Linked DNA regions of Homo sapiens: region 2 is linked to region 1. The links are contacts of gene promoters, found by promoter capture Hi-C in human tissues and cell types (Jung and others, 2019). All regions are on one chromosome and are shown on one strand. The core of a region is centred on a gene start or on the middle of the fragment in contact, and the rest is flanking DNA. Distances in the headings are between cores, read along the strand shown.

Region 1 (2,769 bases), core at 71-2,570:
GAACAGTGAGCCCAGGCTCCAAAACCTCTCCCACAGTTCAACACCCTGGACAATATTTTTATAAAATTACTAACTCACAGTACTTTATGGAGGGCTGCTTCTCTGAATTTTTAAAGTTTTCTACAAATGGTCTTGATGTTTTTCCTCTGAGGTGTACTTTTTTTTCCCAAGAATTATGTGGGTTTTGTTTTGCATTGCTTTGATCAAGGTAGAGTTAATGATTTCTCGTAGGTGCTACTAAGCAGTGGATACGAATGCAATCGGCCAGGCACGGTGGCTCACACCTGTAATCCTAGCACTTTGGGAGGCCGAGGCAGGTGGATCATGAGGTCAGAAGATCGAGACCATCCTGGCCAGCATGGTGAAACCCCGTCTCCACTAAAAATACAAAAATTAGCCGGGTGTGGTGTTGGGTGCCTGTAGTCCCAGCTACTCAGGAGGCTGAGGCAGGAGAATCACTTGAGCCCGGGAGGCGGAGGTTGCAGTGAGCCAAGATTGCGCCACTGCACTCCAGGCTGGCAACGAGTGAGAATGTCTCAAAAAAAAAAAAGAAAGAAAAATGCAATCATGGCTGGGCATGGTGGCCGATGCCTGTAATCCCAGCACTTTGGGAGGCTGAGGTGGGAGGATCACTTAAGTCCAGGAGTTTGAGACCAGCCTGGGCAACATACTGAGACCCATCTCTATTTCTTAAAAAAAGAATGCAATCTCTAGGTCAGTTGGATCTGGACCCCAAGCCAGTGGCTCACCATGTGCTCTTGGGCTGGCAGCTTGTTCTTGGAGGCCATTTCCTCCTCTGTCAAATGGAGGTGATGACAGTACCCAGCCCCTAGAGTGGCTGTGAGGGTTCCATGAGTGCCTGTGAAGACTCCCCACTGCCCAGCTCAGAGTGAGCCCTCATACGTGCTGGTCATTGTTGTAATGGTCATGATTTCAGAAGAGAAACAGAGAAGGTTGAGCTAAAGTGTTGAACATGTGTGTTGGGTGCCTACCACAAACAAAGCCCTGTGCATGGTGGCCTCAAGGTGTCTTCATGATAATCCCAAAAGGAAGATAACTGCTTTTTTCCATTTATATGGCGGCAGATGGGTTAAGTAACCTGACCAAGATGAGACTGCATATAATGTGGTTATATTTCTCATAAAGCTTGACTTTCAGATATTGGCTTCAAAGACAAAAAAGGAAGGTAAACATGTTTGAACACAAGGAGTTTCCCTTCCTTTAAGCCACGCCAGCTTATAAGCCTTCATACAGCAGTGAAGGCGGTTCCTCCCTTCCCAGGCAGAGACTGATAAACTCAGCACTTGCCGGAGTGGCTCATTGTTAAGACAAAGGGTGTGCACTTCCTGGCCAGGAAACCTGAGCGGTGAGACTCCCAGCTGCCTACATCAAGGCCCCAGGACATGCAGAACCTTCCTCTAGAACCCGACCCACCACCATGAGGTCCTGCCTGTGGAGATGCAGGCACCTGAGCCAAGGCGTCCAGTGGTCCTTGCTTCTGGCTGTCCTGGTCTTCTTTCTCTTCGCCTTGCCCTCTTTTATTAAGGAGCCTCAAACAAAGCCTTCCAGGTAAGATTCTTGTCCTTTCCACTCCTCATATTTCATTCATTTGAGGAAACAGAAAAATGATAGCCCAGGGAGGACTGGGGAAGTCTGAGCCACCTGTGTGTCCACATGGGAGTGTCAGGGGTCAGGAGTGTTCTCAAGAAGCACTGGGAAGAAAGACTAATGGGAAGACTTGCAGGGAACAGAAAGGGTGGCAGTGGGCAACCAAGACGCATGGGATGGACATGTCCAGATACTGTGGGACACGTACAGGAGTTTGAGAACTGATGGGTTAGGTCTGCAGAGTGCAGACAGAAGACATGACTGCTTTCCCCTCTGGGACTGTGAGTAATGGCAGCAGCACTGGGTTAGTTCTTACATGCCATTCTCTACGTCCTGAAGCGAAAGAGCCATGCTGTGTGTTCCACTTGTTTCAGACCCGGACTCACCCTAAGTTTGTCAGTTAAAATGGAGAGCCTCCCTCTTAGGGATGCAGTTTCAATTGTGGACGCCAAGTTAATCCTTCAAAAATACCTTCTAGACCATTTTTCTTAGAAAATACACACATCTCCAGCAGTGAGAGGCCCTCTTTTTTTTTTTTTTTTTTTTGAGACGGAGTCTCACTCTGCTGCCGGAGTGCTGGAGTGCAGTGGCATGATCTCAGCTCACTGCAACCTCCACCTCCCAGGTTCAAGCCTCAGCTTCCTGAGTAGCTGGGACTACAGGCGCATGCCACCAGGCCTGGCTAAGTTTTTGTATTTTTAGTAGAGACAGGTTTTCACCATGTTGGCCAGGCTGGTCTTGAACTCCCGACCTCAAGTGATCTACCCACCTCGGCCTCCCAAAGCGCTGGGATGACAGGCGTGAGCCACTGCGCCCAGCCAATAATTTCATTTCACTGTTCCTAAACGTTGAAAGTAATGCAGGTTCTCATAGAGTTAAAAAAAATACAGAAAGGTGAAGCAGGAAGTGAGGGTCTCCCTATTATACCTCCACCTCTATCCACTCTTCAAGGTGACCACTCTTGACACTTGAGGGTACACGGAATTCTATTATTATGTAGCTAACACTGCTATAGTATTTACTATGAGCTAGCCCCTATTCTAAGTGCTTGATATACGTTAACTCACTAATTCTCATTATTAGGACACTGAGATACACAGAACTGAAGTGATTCTCCCAAGGTCACCCTGCTAGTATGCGGCAGGGCCAAGATTCAAACCC
Region 2 (2,769 bases), core at 127-2,626, 58 kb after region 1:
GAGGTTTTCGGGAAGCCTTGCAATCAGACAGGTACCTGTTGCTGCACCCAGACTTCCTCGGATACATGAAGAACAGATTAGAGCCAAAGGCCCGTGACACGGTAGCCTAGGTCCCTCTCATCCTTGCAGCCTGCTGACAGTTGGGAGTCTGGGGCATGTCACAGCCTGCCGCATGTCACAGCTTGCCGAACAGTGGCCACTGAAGCACACCCATCTCATCCATCACTCACTGCCAGGGAGTGTTCCACTTAGAGAGCACGGGTGCTGAGCTTCCCAGCCCTTTCTGATGCTGGAGCCTGCTAGACCAGGGGTCCCCAATCCCAAGCCTGGTCCGAGACCTGTTAGGAACAGGGCATCGCAGCAGGAGGTGAGTGGAGGGGGAAGGAGCATTACCGCCTGAGCTCCGCCTCCTTCAGATCAGCCTCGGCATTAGAGTCTCAAAGGAGTGCGAACCCTTTTGTGAAATGCGCATGCCAGGGATCTAGGTTGCGGGCTCCTTATGAGAGCATCTTAACTCATGCCTGATGATCTGAGGTGGAACAGTTTCATCCCCAACCCCCCCACCCCCACCCCCCTCCGTGGAAAAATTGTCTTCCAGGAAACCAGTCCCTGGTGCCAATAAGTTTGGGAACCCGTTGTGCTGAACATTTCAGGTGGTCTCTCTGACTGGCCTCGTTCTGTGAAAGGAACTCAATGCGATTGAGGGGACTGGCCACCCTGGATGGTTACCAAATAAGCGCTGACAGCCTTAGCTCCCCCACGAAACCCATCACGGCAAGCTCCCCACCTCACCCCCTTTTCCCCCCTCTACCGCCAGCCCAGAGACTGAGCTGTCGGGTTTTGCTCCTCCACCCTGCCCGCCCCCTCCCAGCTGTCCTGGCGTCCGCAGACTGACAGATCTGAGGGTCCTTTGGAGGGAGCCGGGCACATCTCCTCCCGGCCGCCGCCCACCCGCCACAGAGTCTAGAGGCCGAGTGCCGGGCCCGCAGAGGGCAGAGCGCAGCCAGCGCAGCAGGTGGCGGCGTCTACCCGCGCCTAGCTAGCCCCGGACGGCGCGAGGAAAGCGCCCTGCCCAACCCGAGACTGGCGGCCTCCCGGGGCTGGGCTCTGGAGAGAGCGCAGTGGCAGGAGTGGCCGCTGCCGAAGTCCCCCGGGCAGGGGGCAGGGCCAAAGGAGCGCGCGCTCTGGGCGCCGGGACGACACTCCAGCCCCGGGGGACCCGCCGCCCAGCTCCCGAGGGTGCGGCAGCCTCTGGCCACTCAGCCGGGGCCGAGAGGGAGCTGCCGGGCGGGCAGGCGCCGCAGGCACCCGGCGGGCAGGGCGGGGCAGGGCAAGACGGCCGCCTCCGCAAGTGCCACCCGGCCCACCCGGTTCTCTCCCTTCTGCCTGGGACGTCAGCGGACGGGGCGCTCGCGGGCCGGGGCTGTATGGGGCTCCCGCGCGGGTCGTTCTTCTGGCTGCTGCTCCTGCTCACGGCTGCCTGCTCGGGGCTCCTCTTTGCCCTGTACTTCTCGGCGGTGCAGCGGTACCCGGGGCCAGCGGCCGGAGCCAGGTAGGGGCTGCCGAGCGCAGAGCGGGAGGGCGCAGGGGCGACCAGGGCGCGGGGAGGGTCCCCAGCCCAGGGCTCCCCGGCGGCCCGCAGCCCTCAGCCCAACCTCCGCGTGGACCCCTCTGGGGCAGCTCTCAGCGAGGACTCGGCCGCGGCCCTTTGTCGCCAGAACCCTCTCCCAGCCTTGACCTCGCGCTGCCCGGACCCCGCGGCCTTTGCCTGGGTCCAAGGAAGACCTCGCCCCTGTGCACTGGCGACCCGCCCCGGTGCCCCTTGTTGGTGAAGTCCTCCCCGGCCTGATAAGTACACTTTCTATTGTCGAAATCTGGCTGGGTCCCCGAAGCAGATAAAAACTTCCTTTTTTGTCGGGAACTCTCCCTCGGTAACGTCAGATTCTGCTTTTTGGGCAGGGGCCCAAGTCTCCGGTTTCCAACTTCGCGGGGACCCTCCGTCGGGCCGCGGCCAGTCGCCTTTCCCGCCCGCTGCGGTCTCTGTCCGCCCCGCGCCCGCTCCCTTCTCCCCGGCTTCCGCTCGCCGTGTCTGGATAAGCCCAGTGCGGGCGCGATCCGCGAAGAGGCGGGCGCCCGAGGGAAAGAGGGGTGACTCCTGGCTCCATCCGCGTTCTCCTCCCCGCGCCGCGTCCTGCGCTCCACTCCCTCCTCCTCCCTAGGCACTTTCCTGGGTGTCCCACGAGGAGAACCTGGGAGCCGGCCTCTAGCAGGTGGTGGTTCCGGTGACTGAAGAAGCCGCAAAACGATTTCGCTTAGCTTAAGAAAGGCGGACCAAGCCGTGCGAAGTCTGGGTTTGGGAGGAGGGAAGGGCCCGGCAGCCTCAGGGAGAGGCCTCCAGCCCCAGCCTTTCCCTTCCTGGAGCTTTTCCATCTGCGCACCCCCTACCAACCTTGCTGGGGGGCTAACGGGATGAAAACAAAATAAGTATCTGGTCTCCACAGATGCTGTCAAAGGATACACCAAAAGTTGCAGAACAATGTGAAACAGCTTGCCAGTGATCAGGAGTCCAGCACTCTTAGAACAAAGGGTGCTTGCCCCGCCACGGTGACTTAACGCCTGTAGTCCCAGCACTCTGGGAGGCGGAGGTGGGAGGATAGCTTGAGGCCAGGAATTCGAGGCTGTGAGCTGTGATTGCACTACTGCATTCCAGCCTGGTTGACAGAGAGAGACCCTGTCTCAAAAGAAAAGGAATCCTTGTCACTTTTATGT

Evidence for each region. The method cuts DNA at HindIII sites, captures the fragments that hold promoters and counts their contacts. A contact is called where the count stands out against the background at its distance.
Region 2: a contact is called between the fragment with the promoter of ST6GALNAC2 here and the fragment with the promoter of ST6GALNAC1 in region 1, in 1 of the 25 tissues and cell types used here (adrenal gland).

What each region holds. Positions count from the first base shown.
Region 1 is chr17:76,642,308-76,645,076 of GRCh38, reverse strand. It overlaps ST6GALNAC1 (ST6 N-acetylgalactosaminide alpha-2,6-sialyltransferase 1), which reads left to right and starts at 1,320. Exons shown (of 9, transcript NM_018414.5): 1 at 1,320-1,569. The coding sequence starts at 1,439. The HindIII fragment of the contact is 5,915 bases long and covers 1-2,769 here.
Region 2 is chr17:76,584,467-76,587,235 of GRCh38, reverse strand. ST6GALNAC2 (ST6 N-acetylgalactosaminide alpha-2,6-sialyltransferase 2) reads left to right here and starts at 1,376. Exons shown (of 9, transcript NM_006456.3): 1 at 1,376-1,552. The coding sequence starts at 1,428. RefSeq lists enhancers at 1-389, 390-1,071 and silencers at 940-1,229, 1,280-1,619. The HindIII fragment of the contact is 21,800 bases long and covers 1-2,769 here.